Regions from separate parts of the Homo sapiens genome. Here all the other regions are linked to region 1. The links are contacts of gene promoters, found by promoter capture Hi-C in blood cells and fetal thymus (Javierre and others, 2016). All regions are on one chromosome and are shown on one strand. The core of a region is centred on a gene start or on the middle of the fragment in contact, and the rest is flanking DNA. Distances in the headings are between cores, read along the strand shown. Region 1 holds the start of MITF (melanocyte inducing transcription factor). Region 2 overlaps UBA3 (ubiquitin like modifier activating enzyme 3). Region 3 overlaps LMOD3 (leiomodin 3). Region 4 overlaps FRMD4B (FERM domain containing 4B).

Region 1 (5,873 bases), core at 2,530-5,029:
TACCACGGGATGTCTGACAATGTTCAGAGATGTTTTTGGTTGCCATAATTGATAGAGGCAGGAGTACTGGCCTCTAATAGATAGAGGCCAGGGATGCTGCTGGACATCCTGCAATGCATAGGACCCTCCACAACAAGGAATTATCTGGCCCAAAATATCAATAGCACTGAGGTTGAGAAACTTTGTTCTAGGCTCTGGGGACACAATAGTGAGCAAGGAACAAACAGAAAACCCTGTTCCCTTGGAGTTTGCAGTCTAGCATGGAGAAACACGTAATAAACATAACATATTGGAAAATTATACAGTAGATTATAATATAAGCCCTATGGGAAAAAAATATATAGCTGGACAAAGAAGACAGAGAATTTGGAGGAACAGCAATCGCAAATACTGTGGTCAAAAAAGGGCCACACTATCAGTGTGATGGGAATGATGTTTAAAGAATGAACTGTAAAGAAAATAACAAGAACAACATCTGCTAACATTTCCTGAGCACTTACTACGTGCCAGGCACCATGCTAATACTTTCCCACAGTCAACGTCACACTTAATGTTCTTAAGACTCCTGGAGGCAGGCACATACTGGTTGGTGGGGGAGTGAGCACTGGGTCTGTCTGGGCAAAGGATGATCAAGGCAAGTGCAATATAAAAATGCCCAGTGGTGGAAGGGCCTGGGGTATTCCAAAAACAGTGAGGAGACCAGCCTGGCTGTAGCAGAGGGAGGTAGGAGGCAGGCAACAAGAGATAAGGTCAGAGCTGACATCTTAAGAACCTTGAATTTTACTGGGAGAAATTAGGAGCCATGGGCAGGTTCTGGGCAGAGAATGACAGGATCTGACTTGAGGTTTAACACAGAGTTGCTTGACCTCAGCACTACTAACAATTTGGGACCAGATAATCCTTTGTTGTGGGGGCTGTCCTGTGCACTGTAAGATGTTTAGCAGCATCTCTGGCCTCCACCTACTAGATATGGGTAATGATCCCTTCCACTGTAACAATCACAAATGTCTCCAGACACTGTCAAATGACCCCAGGGGCAAAATCACCTCCAACTGAGAACCAGTTTTAACAGGAACATTGTGGCTACTATACTGAAAATTCACTAAATGTGGGTATTGCAGTTTAAAAGACTACTGCAATAATCCAGGCAAGGGCTGATGGTGGCTTGGACCAAAGTGGTAGCAGAGGAGGTGGTAAGAAGCGGGCAGATTCTGGACATATTTTCAACTCTAACAACTCTGGACAATCCAGAGAAGACAGTTGATAGGCAGAACGGCTACAGCAGTCTTCACATATCAATTTCAACTTTTTCCGACAAAGACTTGTAAGAAGTGAGGTGCCCCAGCAAAAACATAAGACAAAAAGCAATGAGAGAGAAGGCCCTGAACAATGTGCAGCCCTTTTAAGTCACACAACAGATGTCGACGACAATACCTTAGACAACTGTGGAAAACAGTATAGAGAAATGTTGCCAACTCCATATATTTATTCACAGATTTTATTTAACTGGTTTATTTCAAAGAGCATGTGTGTGCTCCATATACAAGTTTTACAACAACTTTTTTAATTTAGCCTTCCTTTCCCTGCTGGTTCAGGCCCACACCTGTTTCTAGCATTAACGTGTGAAGCCATTTCTTCCCACATACCCACATTTTCCCTTACACGTGCCTGCTAGCTAGCTACTGAGGACGTTCACCCTTACAAGTCTTTTTTGCTGACTCTGAAAAAGAACAGGCCCAAATCGTGCAACATGAGTTTCACGGCACTCATTTGGGTTTTTCCAGATGGTATTTTCCTCGCTCTCTCAAACTGATTTAATGTTATGTATCAGCTACCATCAGAAATGTTCCAAACAGTCCGGTTAATTTATTTCTTTCAGGATTCCACACACACACTCATTCCCTCATTCTGGCCGTGTAAGCATTTGCTTATAGAAGCAAAAGCAGAGACTGCCCAGTAAAACACTGGTCCCTTCAGCCGAATGCAGATAAAGCCCTGATGAGCATAACCAACAATACCCTTCACACAATATTACTCAAAACCCCCAGCCCCCAACACACACAATCTATGCTCACACACAAAACAGCCATTATGAGGAAAAACCACCAACTAAAGGCTGGTTTTATACGTCCAACTGCTTAGGCGGTTTCCTTCCAATCTGCCGTGAAGCATCTACAAAGAGTCTTCAGCAATGGCAGTCAGTAGGACCGCTGTTCCCAGATTTTCTTCCCCAACTTGGATAAAGAGTCCTGCCACAGCCCTGAAGGAAATAAACCTGGCTGCACTTTCCACTAGAAAAAGAACCAGCCCAGTGCTCGCCAGAGGCCAAGATTACACCACTTGGCTCCCCGTTCAGTTGCCCTTCTCCACTCACCCTCATTTCAAGACCCTCTCCCACTCTGCCAGCCAGGCCCATTCACCCAGGCCCCATCCACAGCGAAGGGCAAGGCAGGAAGTTACAGCCGAGTGCAGAAGCCCTGCTGGATGCTTCCAATGATAGCCTTATCCTAGCTCACAGCTTAGAGGGGTGGAAATAAACCCTTCTCAGCTATTCCAGCCTCCATTGACCATGTCCCTTTTAGGAAACATTGTAAACGAGAAGTACGAGGCGTCCAGAGTGGCTGCCGGACAGAGAGAACGGAAGACACCCAATCCATTTCGACAGACAAGTGGGAATGGAGGCAGCAAAAAGGGTGGCTCAAGGGAAGTGGGCACTAGAGGGGATGGGGCATCAGAGCAGTGGATGTCTTCACTCCTCGTCTAAAAAGTTTCTGAAGTCCCCAGCGAATTAAACACGTGTCTCTGCCAAGCGGGGTACACTCCCAGTAACCCCCAAGACCAAGGCTCATTTCCCCTCTGCAGGTAAGGCCTGGATTTGAATGGGACTCTATTTCCAGAGAGTTTAACTTGAACAAGGGGACACGCCCACCGCTGCCCTGGCCCCTCCCGCGCCCGCTAGCAGCGGTCTGGAGGTGAGAGGCGGAGCCCAGAGAAACCTCACCTGCAGGAGCCCAGAGGCTAGTTTCCCCACAGAGACCGGACTCCCAAGAGGTGACTCCAAGCGAACTAATTGCTTCCCTCCAATGTCGCATCTCAGTCCACCCAAAGCTCTCCCTCTCCGAGCCCTCAACCCGCTGGGATCTTCAGAAAGGGGGTTCACTAGAACTCTTTCTCCCCCATCCCACCGGGACAGCGTCCCGGCCCGGCGCTCCTCCTCCCCCACATCGCGCCAGGTCGCTCCCCAGCCCCCAATCAGTCTCAGCAGCTGGCATCCTCGGCCGAGGGTCCCCGCGCCTGGACGCTTCGTCCCCGGCGACCCGCCGCGCCCCCGCGAAGTGCGCTCCATCCGAGCTTCCTAAAGGCGCACTTGGGCCGGGCAGGCGCGGCCCCCAACTGCGAGGGGCAGTTCGCCCTCTGCTCCGGGGCAAGGGCACTGGGTCCTTGTCCCAGAGCTCCCGCGACCCGCTCTCCTCGCCCCAGAGTGGCAGACGCAGTGCCCCCCAGCCGCCCGGTGCGCCTCTGCCCAGCTGTCACCACTCACCTGCTCTTCAGCGGTTGACTTTTGAGTTCGTAATAGGTTTTGGGCTCTTCATGAAACTCCTCCCCGACTTCGAAATCCGGCACGATCCCCGATTCGGACTGCATGGCTCCCGCTTCCCGTCCTTCCACTGCTGGAAAGTGAGAACAGAGCCCGGGGGCGGAGGGAAGGTAGCTGGGCCTGGGTCCCCCGAGCCGTGCGCCCCGGCGCAGTGCCGAGCTCTGCCCGCTCGCCGGCTCGCGGCCGCCCGCCCCAGCGCGGGGAGTTTACACTCGCACCCGGGCGGGAGGGGCTGGCGGCCGAGCGCCGCCTGGGATCTGTAGTTCGGCCCGGGCGGGGCATTCCCAGCTCGCCTGGGGAGCCGCTCCCACGAAAACTACAGCTCCCAGAAGGCCAGGCGGGGGAGAGGCAACGTGGTGGACACCGCTAGTGCAACTCCTGTTTGGATTCATTGTCAATGTCAGCAGCTCCTCTCCCTCCTCTCTCCCCACTTGCTTCAAGGGTACAGACTTGGCTACTTAATATGAATAAGAATGGACACTGACTGCTCTTCTACCATCGCCCCGACCTCTCAGCTCAGACATCTGCGAGGGCACGCCAAGTGCTTATTTTAAAAATAAAATAGTCAAGGGTTTTGGCACAAGAAAGTTTTAGCATTCGAGCCTGTCTTAAAATAAAAGGACTTCCTATCAGCTCGCATGCTTCCCTGGGCTGCTGCGACATATCAGCTTGTCCTCGGATTGGAACAACGAGGAAGAACTTTCCTTCGCTCTGTAATGAAAACGTTATTGGAGAAATTGTTCTTGTGCGTTCCTTTTCTAGAACTAAGTCTGGACTTTTACAATAGTATTCATCAGTTGAATGGCTCTTTCCCCTTTATCCAAGTAGCCACTTCTAATCTACAGCAGCAATTGAAAGATTCGGTTAATTTTAAAAGGCACAAAGTTACAAAATAGCGTCGTTGCTCTCTGCTTTTAATTTCTCAGTTGACTGGGAGTTCAAATGAGATTTGTCCTAGCATTTCAGGAGTGAAGATGTACAAGTGAACTGTACAAGTGTCCACCCCTTCCCGAGCTTCCCGGAACTCACTTAGGGAAGAGAATTTTAAAACTCTCCGTTGTGGCTCATTTGTACTTCTAGTTCTTCCCTCTGATTAGCTCCAGTAGGACGTGTTCCTTCTTTTCAAAAGTGTTTTGAGGCATCAGGGAGGCAGTATAGAGTTACAGTGGCATTTAAAGGTATAAGACTCAGAGTTGAAATCCCCAGTCCTTCTAAGAAGAGCTGTGCAATCCTGAGCATGTCACTTGGTTCCTAGAAGCCTCCATTTCTTCATCCATAAAAGAAGAGATTGGCAAACCAGTTTTAGAAGATGTTGCAAGGTCAAATGTAAGAGAAAGTGATTTGCAATCTATAAAAACTCTGCTCAGTGGTCATTCTTTATTAGGTCTTGAAGTTATTCCTTTCAGATTAACATCTCATTTTGGTGTTTGGCCTTTCAGAATTAATAAACTAAATGACTGTCCTAGGAGAAAATTCTAAAGAGGCTACAGTGACAACTGGGCACCTCCCAGGAGTTACCCCTTTGCATATCTTGCCTCCCACTGAAACATTTTAATTTCACATCAGAAAAGACATCCAGTAGGATGGATCGATGTTAGGGCTGGAGTTCTCAAGGTGATTTGGAAAAAGTGCAGAAGGCACACTATGTTGCAGTAGCAATTACCAAATTTTCAGAATAAAAATTAGTCCCCAACATACGACTTTTAGGCCCTCCCCTGAAACTATTAAACTATGTCAGAATACCTGAGAACACCCCTAAGGAAAGTGGGAGTTTTGTGCTCATAAAAGTGGGATCCTAGATTCCTTAATAGATGGACTGCTGGAAATTAGCTGTCAAAAGCAAACAAAGAAAACGTGTTTCCTTCATGTTCTCTGGGAGAGAAAGAAGAAAGATCAAACATGAAGGAAACATGCAGTCTAGACTTCTAATCTCATCTGGGCTCTCAATTATCAGTGCTTGGAATATGGGAGGAGGGGTTGTCATAATAACTTATGGATGTTACAGACGTTTAAGGGGTATGGGCCAGAGACACTACACATATTGCACAATAACAAATTTTCTTGTCCAAATTTCAGTGGTATGTATCCCCATTGAGAAACATGGGAAGCTGCCTAATCTTTGGGCTCACCAGAAGTTTTTTAATCTGAGGGAAGCTACGGATCCTCTTCTCAGAAAATACAGATAGAAACAAAACTGTGCATAATTTTGGTCAGCTGACCCACTGAAGGCTATCACAGACTTTATGTTACAACTGCAGTTTATAACTTCTTTAGA
Region 2 (5,873 bases), core at 2,049-4,548, 670 kb after region 1:
ATTATATGTCATCGTGGTCTCTGTCTTCAATCAATCTGAAGTTTCATTGGGGAGATAAATCTCACATGAAATAAATAGCAGTATGCATGATATACTCTGTGGTGGAATGCCAAAATGACAGTACCGTATCAAACATAAATACTCTAGCAGTGTGAGAACCAAAGACTTAGAGAAGGAAAGGGTTTATGGAGGATGGGCATTGGTTTTTGTTAGGTATTATAAATGTACAAGTTTCCTAAAGCTTATTAAATTTTGAAGCCATTATTTGCAAATGTGACATTTACTAATTTTAAGTGTAAAATAATTGAAGATTAGATCTGAAGATTAGTCACCAAGCAACTTTAAGGAGTGACCTCTTCTTTATTGCATTATAGTAATCTTTTACACAAAAGAAGAAAACTAAGGGTTTTCAATTTTACTCCTTGTTTTGCTTATTTAATTCATTGTAAGCCCCCTAAAGGCTCATTCTAACAAAAAAGAATATGATACTAGACTGGGCATGGTGGCTCACACCTGTAATCCCAGCACTTTGGGAGGCCGAGGCAGGCGGATCACAAGGTCAGGAGATCGAGACTATCCTGACTAACACAGTGAAACCCCGTCTCTACTAAAAAATACAGAAAACAAAAAATTAGCCGGGCGTGGTGGCAGGTGCCTGTAGTCCCAGCTACTCGGGAGGCTGAGGCGAGAGAGTGGCGTGAACCCGGGAGGCAGAGCTTGCAGTGAGCCGAGATCACACCACTGCACTCCAGCCTGGGCAACAGAGCGAGACTCCGTCTCAAAAAAAAAAAAAAAAAGATACTAATATTACTGATTGAGCAAATATTTATTGAGCCTCCATCCCATATGCCAAGCACCATTTTAGATGCTGAAGATACAGCATTGAACAAATACAGAAAGGTGTTTGCATTGGTGGGACTCACATTTTAGTTGAATGAAAAAGTAAGTATATAGTATGTCAAATGGTGTGAAGGGAAAAGGTTTACAAAAAGGTGCTATTGAGTACAAAGGTGAGCAAATGAGCCATACAGTTATCTGTAGGAAGAATATTCTAGTTAGAGAGAATAACAGGTACAAAGCTGTGAAGTGGAGCACTCCTGTTTGTTCAAGGACTGCAAGGAGGCTATCATCGCTAGAGCAGAAGTGGGTTGGGGGAGCATTTTTGGAGACCATATCAGACAGATAATGGGAGATGGAGGGGCTTGGAGTGGATATCACAAAAGACTTTGGAGGTTACTGTAAGTGCTGTCGCTTTTACTCTGAGTCATGAAGTCATTGGAGAGATTTATGCAATGAGAGACTTGATTGGCTTTTCACCTAGGTTACTGAGGCTGATGCATTGAGAATAGACTAAGGGAAGAGCAGAGAGGGGGAAGAAACAGAGAGACTAATTAGATTATTATAGTCCTCTAGACAAGAGACAACGTGACTTGAAACAGGATGGTAGCATTGGATGTGGTGACAGGTGGTCAGATTATGGATATATTTTGAAGATGGAATCAACAGGATTAGCTGATGGATTGGTGGTGTGCTGTGAGAGAAAGGAATCGAGGATGATACAACAAGGTTTTTGCTCTAGGGGCGGGCACCTGGAAAGATGGAGTTACTGCAATGAGGAAGTTACTGCAATGAGGAAGATCTGGAAAAGAACAGATTTGGTTGTTGTGAGCAAGGGTGATCAAGTTTGGTTTTGGAAACTGTTAAGTCTGAGATGTCTGCTAGATGGTCTATATCTTACAAGATGGTCTGAGATCACCAGAACAAAGCACAAGGCTACTCCGAATTCTGGCCAGTAAAGTAGGAAGAAAACTGAATGAACTGGAAACCAATTTTTAAAAAGTGTTTAAATTCTCATGAGTGTGGTGACCAACTGAAGAACATGTTTTAGGGTGGAGGAAGTGACCCACCCAGCCTAATACCTCAGAAAGGTAAGGTCAGATAGATTGAGAATTGGTCATTGGAGTTAGCAACACGGAGGTTATTGGTGAACTTGACAAGTACAGTTTCTGTGGAGTTTGAGAACAGTCAGGACTTTGAAAGCACAAATATGGATAAGTCTTGAAGATCTCTTGGTATATAGGGGGACAGAAAAATGAGGAAATTATTGTCAAGTTATTTGATCATCGAAGTAAACTGACCAAGACCAGAAAAGTTAGTTATTGAGACTTATTTTTTTCAGTTTTTTGCATCTGCTGCTAAATTTGAATGTGGTTGTACTGTTCAGAATGCATGGCATTATTATGGAAACCTAACAGGTTTTTTGTTTTTTGCCTTTCCCTGCTTTTTAAATTGCATGCTCTTGATTCAATATCTTTTAAGATACTCCTTTTACAAATACAGCCTACCCATGTGTGTGTTTTTATAATATATGTCTTATAATAGTTACCATTTCTGAATTGTGGCATGCTTAATATTAAGTAAACTAAAATAAAGCTTGTAGAATTGCTTTTAACAATATTTTGAAAAAATAATAGCAAGCATAGTAAAATTAAAGTATCCATCAATAGCAGCAAAGCAACAAATTTTACAAATGTGTTTATGGAATTATATATATATGTAAAATAGTTTCAATCCGTAGAAATTTTGAGTTGTTCTCTTTTGGTTATAGATTATTTGAAACTGAGTGATTGTACACTTTTGACCTGTTCAAGAACTCTGAATTTTATATACCTTGCAAGAGTCTTTCAGCCATTGAATACAAATTACACAGAATTTATTACTGAGAATTTGTAGACTTAAGACTACATTGAAAACAAATGTTACGTTTTTAAATGTGAGGAAACTTCTGCTTAATTGGATTGTTTTTATTCCCACAGGCCTTGTCTGGTTTTAGACAGATTCATGTTATAGATATGGACACTATAGATGTTTCCAATCTAAATAGGCAGTTTTTATTTAGGTAAGTTTTAATATCTTAGCGGTTTTCTTTTTTTAAGCTCTGATAATCATTTGAACTTGTACATTGCAGTTTAATAATTTTTAAAAATGACTTGAGAGGATAATACTAATTTTATTTTAAAAAACAAAAACTACCATTCCCATTGTAGGTAAAGTTTTGTAAGAAAATTTTGGGCATCTTGGTGATAGTAGTTATGTAAACAAATACATGTTTTTGTTTTTTCGAAGAAGTCTCCTTCCAAAGGTTTATGTGATTTTTGGGAATATCCTCAGGTTAACTGTGCTCTGAAGAAAGGAAAGAACGGTAGCTCTTCCTCCAGTTGATGTCAGAAGAGAATACTCGCTGGAGTATTAGGCCCTAGTGAGAGATTGGCAGGGATTTGTGAGCCAAGGTTTGAATGGTGACTGGAGCAATAAAGTTGGGAAAGAGTTTGAGCTTTTCCTACAAGGGGAAAGAAAATGGAAAGTCGAGGAGAGAAAAACCAGAACCAATTGGAATGGAACAAAGAGGGATGGTTACCTTAGGCATATATGGAATATAGAGAACATCAAGGAGTGATTTGTTAAAGATGAGTTTAAGAAGAGAAGTAGAGGCCAGGCATGGTGGCTTACACCTGTAATCCCAACACTGGGAGGCTGAGGTGAGAAGATTGCTTGAGCCCAGGAGATCCAGACCAGCCTGGGCAACAAAGGGAGATTTCGTCTCTACAAAAAAATTAAAAAATTAGCCGGGTGTGCACCTGTGGTCCCTGCTGCATGGGAAGCTGAGGTAGGAGGATCGTTTGAGCTCAGGATCTGGAGGCTGCAGTGAACTGTGTTCATGCCACTGTACTCCAGCCTGGGCAACAGAGCGAGACCCTGTCTCAAAAACAAAAACAAAACAACCCAAAAAACAAAAACTGAAGTAGACCATGTATCCAGACATGAAGAAATGTTCATTCATGAATTTAGTATGTAATATTGAGGGGTTTGAGTAGTTTAGGTAAAAGTGTATATTTGTTAGTCAAAGATACACAGAGATAAGGACTTTTTTTTTCTCTCTCTATTTAGGAAGTTTGCATCTGTTACTGACAGTGCTCAAATTGTTCTGGGTATATAGGATAAAGTTGAGCTAGCAAAAAAGGTAACATTAAGTTTTTGGATAGGCATAAAACCTCTACATTATCTTTGTGGAAGATCTTAATGGGACTGAAGTATGGATTAAAATAAGTTAATGAAGTGTTGTAATTGCAGTGTGACCCTTAATGTTTAACTTTTAAGCTTTATTTTTTGTTTATTTTTTAACCTTTGAAATTTCCCTTCTCTATAGCAAAGTTTGTGGGCTCTGTCCAGCTTGTCAAATTTTGAGTTGTGAATTCTCTGAAAAAGATACCACTGAATTGATTTGTTATTGATACAGGCCATACCCTTTAATTTGTGGCTAAAATGGTTGAAGATGGTAATAACGATATGTAGCAAGTACTTCTAAACTATCCATATTATTCCATTTAATCTCAGCAACCTCAGGGTAGGTTCTTGTGTTCAAGGTTAAATAATTTGGGCAGAGTGTCCTGCAAGGATGATGTGTGTGAAAGGCCATTTTATTGAGGTGGAGCAATCTGATTGTTTCATCCTGGAATGGTAAATTAACAAACAGTTCCCAGAAACCATCTAGGAGTTCTTTTGTTTGGGCCGTGCCATAAAAGCACATAGAATATATTACTTAAAATAATCTTAGAAGTCTACTTTATCCCTTTTACAAACCAAAAGAGCTTTCTGTGTGTGGAGCCATTGAATGCAATACTGAAATTAAGTTCTTTGATTTATAACAGGGCCTTTTTTATGTAAGTTAGTACAAAGTGAAGATAAAACATTTACCAAAAGTTTTGAATCAAAAAAGAACAGTGCTTTATTGGAGAGAAAAAAAATTGGCCTGGCATGGTGGCTCATGCCTGTAATCACAGCACATTGGGAGGCTAAGGTGGGCGGATCACTTGAGGTCAGAAGTTCGAGACCAGCCCGGCCAACACGGTGAAACCCTGTGTCTACTAAAAATACAAAAATTAGCCAGGCGTAGTGACTCATGCCCGTAGTCCCAGCACTCTGGAGGCTGAGACAGGAGAATTGTTTGAATCTGGGAGGCAGAGGTTATAGTGAGCCGAGATTGTGCCACTGCACTCCAGCGTGGGTGACAGAGCGAGACTCTGTCTCAAACAAACAAAAAAAAAGAAAAGAAAAATTGACATGCTAAAGTGTTTTTCTTTGAAATTTCAGATTTTTTTCTAATAAGCACACGATTTATTATTTTCATTTATTTTAAAAGTATTTACTGTGTGCTAGGTAGGAAGGAATATGAAGAGAGTAAGAACATGGTCACTTTCATCCAAATAATAGTCTAGTGGGTATGATAGACGTGTATGTAGCAAATATGTTACGAAAAAAGTAATAATGTTCTTATTATATACATGGAGTGATTTCTCTGAGGAGAATATGGAAATATTAGGAAAGAAAATACCATTTGTATAGAACTTAGAGGAGGAAATTCATATCCTTTCCTATCTATATGTGTGGTTATTGTTTTAAGAGTGACCTTTTGAGGCCTTATATATTCAGCTTCTGTGATGTAATAGTAACATTTGCAATTTTAGCTGACACTTTTGGTATTATTCTTTCTTTAAAAACTTGGTGCCGGGCATGGTGGCTCATGCCTGTAATCCCAGCATTTTGGGAGGCTGAGGCGGGCAGATCACCTGAGGTCAGGAGTTCGAGACCAGCCTGACCAACATGGCAAAACTAAAAATACAAAAACTAGCTGGTTGTGGTGGCAGGCACCTGTAATCTCACCTCCCTAGAGACTGAGGCATGAGAATTGCTTGAACCTGGGAGGCGGAGGTTGCAGTGAGCCGAGATCGCACCACTGCACTCCAGCCTGGGTGACAGAGTGAGTGAGACTCCGTCTCAAAAAGAAAAAAGAAAAAAACGTGGTTACAGCCTCT
Region 3 (5,873 bases), core at 2,368-4,867, 630 kb after region 1:
TCATTGCACCACTGCGCTCCAGCCTGGGTGACAGTGAGATCCTCATCTCTCTAAATAATTAAAAAATTTTTAAATTTAAAATATTATTTTGGAACTCTTCCATGCATATATAAACAAATACAGGGAATAACTTATATAAAATGCTTCTTTTTCCATTCCATAATACAAAGAACACAGTGTTTTAACTATTTATTGCAGCTTTACAGTTATTTTAAATACCTGGCTCATGGTTTCTCTTAACTACTGGTGTTCTCCATGGGAGAGCCCTGCAGGGTGCAGTCATACCCCTCTCTTCTCAAAGTTTGGCACAAGGGAGGTAGAGGGTCAGAAGCCATGGAAGTCCCCTTGGCTTGAAGGCTGGCAGGCAGCAGCACATCAAAGGTCCTCTCTGGTGGGCAGAATATTGGAAAAACATTCCTAGCCAAAGATCGTGGGCTGAGAACTGGCTGCAAGAGGAGCCAGAGCAGATGACCAAAATGGTTCATCACACTGGCAGGTGGACATTAGCAATACAGGGAGAAACATTCCTAGTCATTGTTATACAAATGCCCTGGGGACACTGGGCATCTTCAGTGTCCTCTGGAAGGTACATACATGATGGATGAGTTGATGAGTTACTTTCCTAAGATACAATGACACTTGAAACCCTTTAAAAACTTGCTTTGTCCTTAAGGTTTTCCTATGAGGCAGAAGTATGAAGTGGGTTTGCAGTGTTGGACTTCTGTTGTTGTTTTATAATTTTTTTTTGTCTTGGGGGATGCTTTAAATATATATATATATATATATATATTTTTTTTTTTTTTTTGAGATGGTGTCTCTGTTGCCCAGGCTGGAGTGCAGTGGTGGGATCCCAGCTCAAGGCAACCTCTGCCTCCCGGGTTCAAGCAATTCTCCTGCCTCAGCTCCCTGAGTAGCTGGGATTACAGGCACGTGCCACCACGCCCAGCTAATTTTTGTATTTTTAGTAAAGACAGGGTTTCACCCTGTTGGCCAGGCTTGTCTTGAACTCCTGACCTCAGGAGAACCGCCCACCTCGGCCTCCCAAAGTGCTGGAATTACAGGCGTCAGCCACCGCGCCCAGCCTTGTTATAAAACTCTTTTAAGAAAATCAGGTGGCTGGGTGCGGTGGCTCACACCTGTAATCCCAGCACTCTGGGAGGCCAAGGTGGGTGGAGCACCTGAGGTCAGGAGTTCACGACAAGCCTGGCCGACATGGTGAAACCCCGTCTCTACTAAAAATACAAAAATTAGCTGGGCGTGGTGGCATGCACCTGTAGTCCCAGCTACTTGGGAGTCTGAGGCAGGAGAATCGCTTGAACCTGGGAGGCAGAGGTTGTCTTGAGCCGGGATCATGCCACTCCACTCCAGCCTGGGTGACAGAGTAAGACTTTGTCTAAAAAAAATAAAATAAAAATCCTAACAAGGTGAGATGGGTCTCACTTTGTTGTTCAAGCTGGTCTCGAACTCCTGGCCACAAGTGATTCTCCCATCTCAATCTCCTGAGTAGCCAGGATTACAGGTGCATGCCCCCTTGCCTGGCTTATATTTCATGTTTAAATATTTCTGACCATCAGATTAGGAGTGTGCTTCAAAGAGGAAAGACATGTTTTAAAAAGAACATATATTTTATATTCTTATAGTGATATTTTTACAGGCAGTGTATAATAATGAGCACTGAAATCAGGCAGACCTGGTTCAAATCCTGCTCTGCCACTTCCTAGCTGTATGATCTTAGGCAAGTTATTGTCTTCTCTGAGCCATTTCTCTCCCTACAAGGCTTTTGTAGGATGTAATGAGATACTGTTTTAAAAATAAGTGTTAGGCCGGGTGCTCATGCCTGTAATCTCAGCACTTTGAGAGTCCGAAGCAAGTGAATCACTTGAGGCCAGGAGTTTGAGACCAGCCAGGCCAACATGGTGAAACCCTGTCTCTACTAAAAATACAAAAATTAGCTGGGCATTGGTGGCACATGCCTGTAATCCAAGCTACTTGGGAGGCTGAGGCAGGAGAATCGCTTGAACCCGGGAGTTGGAGGTTGCAGTGAGCCAAGATGGTGTCACTGCACTCCAGCCTGGAAGATAGACTGAGACTCCATCTCAAAAAAAAAAAAAAAAAAAAAAAAAGTGTTAACATGGATTACTCACTTGTATAATAGCCTTGTGAATTAGATACTGTTATTATCATTTTACAGCTGAGAAAACTGATGCCCAACACCACATAACTACTACATGCTAGTGCCAGTCTTTGAACCCAGGCCAACTTAGGCACCCGCCCTCTTATTTCCATGATGTTACTTTGCCATGTGCTCAAAGCTCTTGGAACAGTCCCTGGCATTAGTAAATGTCTAATAAATGGTGGCTGTGGTTATGATTGTTGTTTTATCTTGATTTTGGAGGTGCTTTGGCCAGAATTTCAAACCTATTCTGTATCTTTTAAGGCATGTAAATTTTGTAAATTTTGCTGCAAAGCTCTTAAATTTCCAGGATTAATTTCCCCCGTTTCCTCAAATGCTTAAATCGCAGGTGCAACTGCCAAAAGAACTGGCGTAAGAGGCAACAGAGCCATCTAGAAGAACAAGAAATGGAAATAGTGACTCTTGGATTACAGCATGGAGACTATGTCAGCAGCAATACTTTAGGATCCACGTGGCAGAACTGGAAACAATGCTACCATCTGATAAGGGTATTTGTAAAAGGCAGAATGTTTGGGCCATGAAGAAGTAGGGGCTGAAGAGGAAGGTGGAAGGAGATAAAATATAATATTTAGAGGCAATATTTTCTACTTGCAATCAATTTGAGTGACTCAGGTGAAATTTAGAGTCATATTTCCCGAAGCAGAAGTTAAAGAAAATTTTTTAAACATTTGCTTTATTATTGTTTTCTTCTGGTAAATAATAAATATAACAGAAGTGTTAACTATTGTATTCCCATTTTTTTCTCCTTCCATCTCTTCTGCGGTAATTCATCACATAGTATCTTAAAGGGAACAAATAATGTTTCATCCTATGGAAATGTGAAGGATGAATTGAGCTCCTGGCCCTTCTGATGCTTTGAAATGGAAGGATTGTTCCTTAGAGCTTCTCTGCAGAATCAGTGGAGATTTTCAGTTTCCCACCCTGCCTGGCTTTCTCTCTTGGTGACTCCCTTGGTGTTTTGGAGTATTCTTTCTATAGGGGTACCTGTGAGGGGCAGAACACGTAAGCCACAGAACATGGTGAAAACTAAGTGTCACTAGGAAAAGTAATGGGAAAGTAAACCCTGCATATATGAAAACTTCCTGGCAGCAAGTTTTCATATATAGAGGGACAATGGGAGACAGCATGCTGTTTTTATAGAAAAGAAGTTTTACATAATATAGTTATTGACAAGCTTTTGGTTTTGGCTAAATACACACACACACACACACGCTCATATGTGTTTACTCTGTAAGTCTAATTTGATTTTATCACTCTCAAACATATTTTAAAGGAAACTTGCTTACAGGAAGGATTAAACTTGAACTACTTATCCTATTCTTTAAGGCACTCCATTGCCTGGCCCCAATTTACTAATCCTGTCTTATTTCCCACAAATCCTTTATACTCTACTCGATGAAACATCCTTGTGCACACCCTTGTGCCTTTGCTCGCATTAATCCTTCCAAGAGACTTCCCTCCTGTTCTCCATTAATGAACGTCCTACCCAGTCTTCAACTCCCGGGTCAGATCCTGTGTCCTCCATAAAAAATTTTCCAGACAACTCCAATCTGTCCTTCTTCCAAGTTCCTAGAGGCCTTAATTATTCATTCTAGCCACTAGGTGCATAGAATTTGAGATTTTTGTAATAATAGAAGTAGTGTGAACCCTAGAAATTAGAAAATCAAGCTTTGGGCCAGGTGCGGTGGCTCATGCCTGTAATCCCAGCACTATGGGAGGCCAGGGAGGGAGGATCTCCAGAGGTCAGGAGTTCGAGACCAGCCTGGCCAACATGGTGAAACCCCGTCTCTATTAAAAATACAAAAATTAGCTGGGCATGATGGCAGGCACCTGTAATCCCAGCTACTCGGGAGGCTGAGGCAGGAGAATTGCTTGAACTGGGGAGGCAGAGGTTGCAGTGAGACAAGATCACGTCACTGTACTCCAGCCTGGGTGACAGAGTGATACTCCATCTCAAAAAAAAAAAAAAAAAAAAAAAAAAAAAAAAAAAAAAAAACCTTTGGTGCCTTTTCTCTCTTCTTTACCTGAGTAAATAATTGGCACCTGCCTTCTTTCTCCTTTTATGTTATCATAAGTGGCATGTATCAAACCAAACAGGCTAGGGGAGAATAGGTCTAATTGTGACAGACTTAAAAACAACACATTATTTGGAAAGACAAGCCATGGGAAAGAAATATGGCGTTTCTATTTTTTTAAGATAATTTAGTATGTACAAAAGTATCCAAATTTAAATATAGTTTTCAATGGCTGATAGTTTTGTTTTCTCACCCTTCAATATTTCTAGAAAACATCCTTGCATACAAAGCAGGATAGCTAAGAAAGGGCTGTAACAAACAAAACTTCAAGTGTCTAGCACATACTACATCTAAGAGGCTAAACTCTGATAGGAAAAGCACTTTAAACATAATTAAAAGCTTAATGTAAATTAGTAGTTGAAATTCTAGGCCGGTGCGGTGGCTCATGCCTGTAATCCCAGCACTGTAGGCGGCCGAGGTGGGTGAATCACATGAGGTCAGGAGTTCAAGACCAGCCTGACCAACATGGTGAAACCCCATTTCTACTAAAAAAAAAAAAAAAAAAAAAAAAAAATACAAAATTAGCCAGGCATGGTAGCTCATGCCTGTAATCCCAGCTACTTGGGAGGCAGGAGAATCACCTGAACATGGGAGGTGGAGGTTGCAGTGAGCTGAGATTGCACCATTGCACTCCAGCCTGGGCAACAAGAGCGAAACCTCATCTCAAAAAAAAAAAAAAAATTCTAGAAAGCCCCTATGCATTTGTTTGTATAGCCACAGTATTATTAAAGTCAGGAATTTCAAAATGCACAGTAAGAGGGTTTTTATCTTAGATATACAAGAAGAAAAGATGATCCAATTTCATAGCTTATGGCCTCAATACACAGGTTTTGCCAAAAGAGGTGAAGCAGTTCACATTATGCTTTTTCTACCACCCAACCCTAAAGATCTTAGTTGCAGATTTTAGCTTGTTTTTAAATGTAATCATAATTTACAACATTTATATGTTACATTTTTCTGTTATTACCCTTCCAGAATTGACTACTGGCCATTAGTAATTACAGGTATCTTTTTTTTTATTAGTTTCTCCAAATTTATTGGATTTTATCGGCAGAATTCACCTTGTAGAAAATGGAATGGGCTAACATGTATATAAAACTGGGCTAACATGTATATAAAACTCGTGCCAGGTTTAAAAATAGGATCCCACTGGAATTGTTTTATTCTGGCTGCAAGTTAATAAAGTATTCAAGCTTTACTAAACAGTATTTGAAACAGCTGAAGTGTTTGCTTCACTGTTTATAGGGTCGTCGCCAAGTTTCTCAGGTATTTAAGACAGATGTGCATTAAATAAAGTCTCACCAAAAAAACCTTTAATCAATTTTATTCTTCATATGTGGGTAAGGGTACAGATTCTAGACCATGTCTGTGAAGTCATGGTGATATCACTGTGCTAAAGATCATGGCTGTAGGTTGGCTGAGAATTTAAAATGCAAGAAAAATCAGAAGCAGCACATCATTGCTTCTTATTCTAGGACATACAGAGAGTTTCTTCAGTAAGTACCACTCCAGTTGTCTTCACAATTTAATGCTACAGAAACCTAAATGTTTCTACTTCAGCTACGAAATCATTCAATTGGCAGGCAAAACATTTTTTATTACCT
Region 4 (5,873 bases), core at 1,956-4,455, 530 kb after region 1:
ATTTCCTCTCCTGTACTTATGACTCACAGGCCTTTCTTTACGTTCACAGTTTCATAGAAATTGGCAAATACTTCTTGACACTGATCATAATCAGTTTTGCTTGTTCATTCCAGAGTCTAGAAAAGGGTCAGAAGCTACTTCCTTTTTTGGATTTGCAGGGTTTTTTTATTTCAGTTCCAAAACATGCCACTCCATTTTTAAAAAGACCCTACACAGTCCATCTTTTGTTATCGCTTTTTTTCTTTTTTTTCTTTTTTTTTTTCTTTTTTTTTTTTTTTTTTTTTGAGACGGGGTTTCGCTCTGTTGCCCAGGCTGGAGTGCAATGGCACGATCTTGGCTCACTGCAACCTCCACCTCCTGGGTTCAAGTGATTCTCCTACCTCAGCCTCCCGAGAAGCTGGGATTACAGGTGCCTGCCACCATGCCTGGCTAATTTTTGTATTTTTAGTAGAGACAGGTTTTCACCATGCTGGCCAAGCTGGTCTCGAACTCCTGACCTCAGGCAATCCACCTGCCTCGGGCCTCCCAAAGTGCTGGGAATACAGGCGTGAGCCACCATGCCCGGCCCATGTTATCACTTTCTTGCCTTCTCTTTCTCCGTTTTTTTTTTTGGGGGGTGTCTACTCTGTGCCATTGTTTATTTCTTCCTTTCTTCTTTTGTTAAAATCTGACAATGGATTTTGCTTCCATATATTTATTTTTTATGTCCAGACAATGTAAGGATTGAGGCTGTTTTACAAGTCCCTCTCCTGGCCTAGTTTGCACAAATGAAAGAATGCATAATTTAAAGGACCATGAGCACAGCCTTCTATTAAAGGAGGATCATGCTTCAGCTGTTTGTGTGGACCTGTGCAGGCTGCAAGTTTACCAATGGACCAGCAGGAATGAAGGTCAAATTGGCAAACTGTAATGAAACAAAGGCTATAATGAGAGGCCTTAAGGTGCTCAGCCTCTTGAGCCACATCCCGTCTTGTTACAATTATGTGGCTTAAAAGCAGGCCAGAAGAAGGGAAATTTACTGAGAATAAGTACTAAGAATAAGAAAACTGATGCCGAAAGGCTGTTTTGAAAAGGAGTTGTTCCAAGATCTCCCAGCAGTGACCTTCAGACCTTTCTGTATCAGTTATCACCTGTGAATGTTAAGGGCAGGGAGGTATTTGTTTGACCTCCCAGGGCATCCAGCAGATGCTCTTCAAGTCTTTTATTTATATGGCTTTTTTTTGCCAGTCTGGGGTGCCAACAAGTTGTTTTCAACCAGTGTGTAGTGTAGTACAGTGATGCAGGGAAAGAGTTTGGGAGACATCCCAACCTCTGCCCCTGGTGTCTATTTACTGTGCCACCTTGAGCATGTTGTTTAATCTCTCTTTAAAAGTGGTTTTCTCATCTGCACAAGGGTATTGCCACCAACTGTGTAGGGTGGTTGTAAGACCTAGAGGACAAATTTAGCACCATAGCTGATACGCCATCATCATTAGTAGTAGTGAGAAGACAGACAATAAAAGAGTATGGGAAATATTCTTGGATCACTGGTTAGAGAGGGACACAACATTGCTACAAGCCCACAGCTTTAGTGTACTAAGAATCCACTCTCAAATTTTCTTTCTTTTTTTTTTTTTTTTTCGAGATGGCATTTCACTCACTCTTGTTGCCCCGGGTGGAGTGCAATGGCACGAGCTCAGCTCAGCTCACTGCAACCCCTGCTTCCCGGGTTCAAGGAATTCTCCTGCCTCAGCCTCCCAAGTAGCTGGGATTACAGGCATGCGCCACCATGCCTGGCTAATTTTGTATTTTTAGCAGAGATGGAGTTTCACCATGTTGGTCAGGCTGGTCTCGAACTCCTGACCTCAGGTGATCCACCTGCCTGAGCCTCCCAAAGTTCTGGGAATAGAGATGTGTGCCACTACACCCGGCCTCCACCCTCAAATTTTCTGTTTTCGGAGATGTGTGAGCACTTCTTTCACCTCCTAATTCATTAAGCATCATGCCTGAAGGTGTGACGCAAATTAAAGGAAAAATTTTTAATCCAAAATTACAAACCACAAACATTCAGGGTATTAAAAATTAAGACAATAAGCAGCTTTACTTTTTAATCCTCCCTTTGTGTATGAATATGTCATTGCAAACTCTTAGAGAATGTGAAAACGTACCAGAACTCAACTGAATTCCAAATGGTAAGACATTTGGACTTAGAGACTGATGAAGTTTCACTTAAAGAAAAAAAAAAAAGCAGCCTTGTGTTCCTTCTAAGTATTTATTGTTCAGTATTTCAAGGAAAAATGTCTGTTCTTCATAAAGAAGCAGACAGTGGGTCAGAGACTGAGCCAAGTATTAGTCTATGTCATGACAGATTTGTATCCCTTCGGCAAATACTTCCCCTGGAAAACCAGAGCCTGTCAGATGGCAGAGATAAAATGACATACTGTCGAGGTGTCCATAGTGGGACAAAATGCTTCTCAAGATAAGTATCTTTTTGCCTTATATCATGCCAAGAAAGACTTGAGGTGAACTTCATCACCACAGGGCATGTGAAGGTGGGAAAAGTCTCTTAGCTTTCTGTTTCTGTCTCTATATATATTGGAATTCCCAAATCCCTAAAGCCAAATGAATTAAGTAACAAGCACAAAAGTCTTCCTGTTTTCTTCTCATACAACTACAAGGTTATTTTATTTAAAGACAGTGACTTGGTTATTTCTTTAAGCACAGCTATCTTGAGCATTTCTAAGCTCTTCTTTCCACCATGACCATACCACCTTGGACCTAGATTAGAAGCTACTTCTGACACTGCTGAAATTCTAGATGAGATTAACTGTAGGAGAAGAGAACATGGGTTGTTCTCTTTCTACATTAATGCCAAATAAAGCATGGTATGGAAGAAAATAATTGGATTTTAGAATGTCAACCAGAGACTGGTCCATCCTGTTTATAAAGTGTGTATCTAAGCTTTAACCACACCAGTAATCAATCTGATTGTTAAAACCTTCTGCAGAGTCAGTGGGAGGAGAACTCCCATCCTACAGCATGGATTTGAAATAAGAACCAGTTCTGCATTTCCACTTACCAGCTGGCTGACTCAGAGCTGTCACTCAACTTTCTGGGCCTTCATTTTTTTCAGCTATCAAATTGAGATAACTCTTGTCTGCTGTCCACCTCACAGATCATTGTGAGGACCCAATGAGTTAGTGAGTTATTTCACTGAGTGGGTTATTTTCCCCTCCACACCATACTTTAATTTATAGAAAGTGTATTGTACAGCATGGTCTTTCTCTTCCCCTCCCATAGTTGATCGCAATTAGAATTTTAAGCAGTTCTCGTAAAACATGGAACTTTTAGAAAATTGGTTAGGTATTGGTGAAGAAGATGGAAAGAGGGAGGCCTAGGCAGGCTCCTCTGTCATTTGGAAAGTACCAACTCTGAGTGCAAGGGCAGCTGGGTGGTATTGTCTCTAGGTGGGTGGCCCTGGGCAAAGCTTTAACTCAAGATGTTCTTTTTTTTTTTTTTTTGAGATGGATTCTCGCTCTGTTGCCCAGGCTGGAGTGCAGTGGCGTGATCTTGGCTCACTGCAACCTCCACCTCCCAGGTTCGAGCCATTCTTCTGCCTCACCCTCCTGAGTAGCTGGGACTACAGGCGCACGCCACCACGCCCAGCTAATTTTTGTATTTGTAGTAGAGATGGGGTTTCACCACGTTGGCCAGGCTGGCCTCGAACCCCTGACCTCCTGATCCGCCTGCCTCAGCCTCCCAAAGTGCTGGGATTACAGGTGTGAGCCACCGCGCCTGGCATAACTCAAGATGTTCTATTACTAAAAATAAGGAAAAATAGATCCTAGGGGAGATCAGTAGTTTCTGTCACACTGTATTTGTTTCCTTTGAAGTCTTTGGAGGGATGGTTGGTGAGAAACAAGTAAGCAAAGAAATAAAGACATAAATTTGTAATTATCTTTGATGGAAACAAATGAGATGGGGGACAGTAATGGGATGCAGGGAGGGGACATTTGGTGTGTTCAGGGAAAGCCTCTCTGAGGAAGGTGATGTTTAACCTGAGACCCGAAGGGCAGAAAGCTCATAAAGAACAGTATGGCTTGTTCTCATCAAAGAACAGGGTATGCCGATGGGAAGGAGATAGGCATGTTAGAAACCCAGGAGAAGGCTGGTTGCAGTGGCTCAGCCTATAATCCCAGCACTTTGGGAAGCCGACGTAGGCGGATCACTTGAGGTCTGGAGTACCAGACCAGCCTGGCCAACATGGTGAAACCCTATCTCTACTAAAAATACAAAAATTAGGCCAGGCGTGGTGGCTCATGCCTATAATCCCAGCACTTTGGGAGGCCGAGGTGGGTAGATCACCTGAGGTGAGGAGTTGGAAACCAGCCTGGCCAACATGGTGAAACCCCGTCTCTACTAAAATACAAAAAATTAGCCGGGTGTGGTGGTGGGTGCCTGTAATCTCAGCTACTCAGGAGGCTGAGGCAGGAGAATTGCTTGAACCCGGGAGGTGGAGGTTGCAGTGAGCCAGGATCACACCATTGCACTCTAGCCTGGGTGACAGAGTGAGACTCTGTCTAAAAAAATAAATAAAATAAAAATAAAAATACAAAAATTAGCCAGACATGGTGGCGGGTGCCCATAATCCCAGCTACTTGGGAGGCTGAGGCAAGAGAATTGCTTGAACCCAGGAAGCGGAAGTTACAGTGAGCCAAGATGGCGCCACTGCACACCACTGTAGCTGGAGCTTACGGAGTTCCGTGTAGAAATGGAAGATGCTGCTAGAAGAAAAGGAAGTGGCTGCCAGACAGGCAGAACCATCAGATGTCCATTGTTTTTTCTTTTTTTTTTTTTTGAGACGGAGTCTCACTCTGTCACCAGGCTGGAGTGCATTGGCCCGATCTTGGCTCACAGCAACCTCTGCTTCCCAAGTTCAAGTGATTCTCCTGCCTCAGCCTCCCGAGTAGCTGGGAGTATAGGCATGTCCCACCACGCCCAGCTAATTTTTGTATTTTTAGTAGAGACGGGGTTTCACCATGTTGGCCAAGATGGTTTCGATCTCTTGACCTCGTGATCCACCCGCCTCGGCCTCCCAAAGTGCTGGGATTACAGGCATGAGCCACGGTGCCTGACTGTCCATTGTTTTTTCTATTCCTTTACATGTCTAAGCATTTACCACATGGTTGAACTGTTGGCACATGAAGAAAAATGAAAGATAGCTCATAAATAGGATTGACTAGTCTGAATGCAGAGAAAAGCAATTAGTACATAAAGCACTGTAAAAAATAGTTCTATGAAGAGGCATAAACAGTAAAGATTTATTTTCTTTCTTTCTTTCTTTTTTTTTTTTTTTTAAAGACATAGGTTCTAACTCTGTTGCCCAGGCTGGAGTGCAGAGTCATAATGATAGTTCACTGCAGCCTCAAACTCCTCAGTTCAAGCAATCCTCCCACCTTAGCCTCTCAAGTAGCTAGGACTATAGGCATGTGCCATTGTGTCCCACTAATTTTTTAAATTCTGTTATGGAGACAGGGTCTCACTATGTTGCCCAAGCTGGTCTTGAACTCATGGCCTCAAGTGATCCTCCCACCTCAGCCTCCCAAAGTGCTGGGATTATAAGCGTGAGCCATTGTGCTTGTCCAAAGTTTCTTTATTATATACTTGTGACCAATGATTGGCTGGTTTGGGACTTTTTTTTGGTAGCAAGGCTTCACTGATAAGCTAAAGTTGTTAAATTCATCTATCTTTACATTTCTAACCATAGAGTGCCATGTACCTGATTTTATGCTCCCCTCCACCAAAAAAAAATGTATTAAGCCCAATGCATTTACAGGGGCCCTAAATGAGTGCTTTATATTCTTTGTCTCATTTAAGGAAAAAGCCACAATCCC

The links. Contacts are between HindIII fragments. The CHiCAGO score rates a contact against its expected background, and 5 or more counts as called.
Region 2: a contact is called between a fragment that was not itself captured here and the fragment with the promoter of MITF in region 1, in 1 of 17 cell types (erythroblasts). The highest score is 5.1, in erythroblasts.
Region 3: a contact is called between a fragment that was not itself captured here and the fragment with the promoter of MITF in region 1, in 1 of 17 cell types (monocytes). The highest score is 6.0, in monocytes.
Region 4: a fragment that was not itself captured here is called in contact with the fragment with the promoter of MITF in region 1 in 1 of 17 cell types (monocytes); the score reaches 8.7 in monocytes.

What each region holds. Positions count from the first base shown.
Region 1 is chr3:69,737,370-69,743,242 of GRCh38, reverse strand. It overlaps MITF (melanocyte inducing transcription factor), which reads right to left and starts at 3,779. Exons shown (of 10, transcript NM_001354604.2): 1 at 3,542-3,779. The coding sequence starts at 3,645. RefSeq lists a silencer at 3,544-3,843 and a promoter at 3,643-5,873. The HindIII fragment of the contact is 10,451 bases long and covers 1-5,873 here.
Region 2 is chr3:69,068,561-69,074,433 of GRCh38, reverse strand. UBA3 (ubiquitin like modifier activating enzyme 3) reads left to right here. Exons shown (of 18, transcript NM_003968.4): 5 at 2,817-2,899. Among named protein-coding and RNA genes, the nearest start is that of UBA3, 8.9 kb to the left of the region's middle. The HindIII fragment of the contact is 1,725 bases long and covers 2,436-4,160 here.
Region 3 is chr3:69,105,771-69,111,643 of GRCh38, reverse strand. It overlaps LMOD3 (leiomodin 3), which reads left to right. Exons shown (of 3, transcript NM_198271.5): 3 at 2,523-5,579. The coding sequence ends at 2,549. It overlaps ARL6IP5 (ARF like GTPase 6 interacting protein 5), which reads right to left. Exons shown (of 3, transcript NM_006407.4): 3 at 5,552-5,873. Among named protein-coding and RNA genes, the nearest start is that of LMOD3, 14 kb to the left of the region's middle. RefSeq lists an enhancer at 251-752. The HindIII fragment of the contact is 494 bases long and covers 3,371-3,864 here.
Region 4 is chr3:69,206,771-69,212,643 of GRCh38, reverse strand. All of the region lies in intron 11 of FRMD4B (FERM domain containing 4B), which reads left to right. Among named protein-coding and RNA genes, the nearest start is that of LMOD3, 87 kb to the right of the region's middle. The HindIII fragment of the contact is 526 bases long and covers 2,943-3,468 here.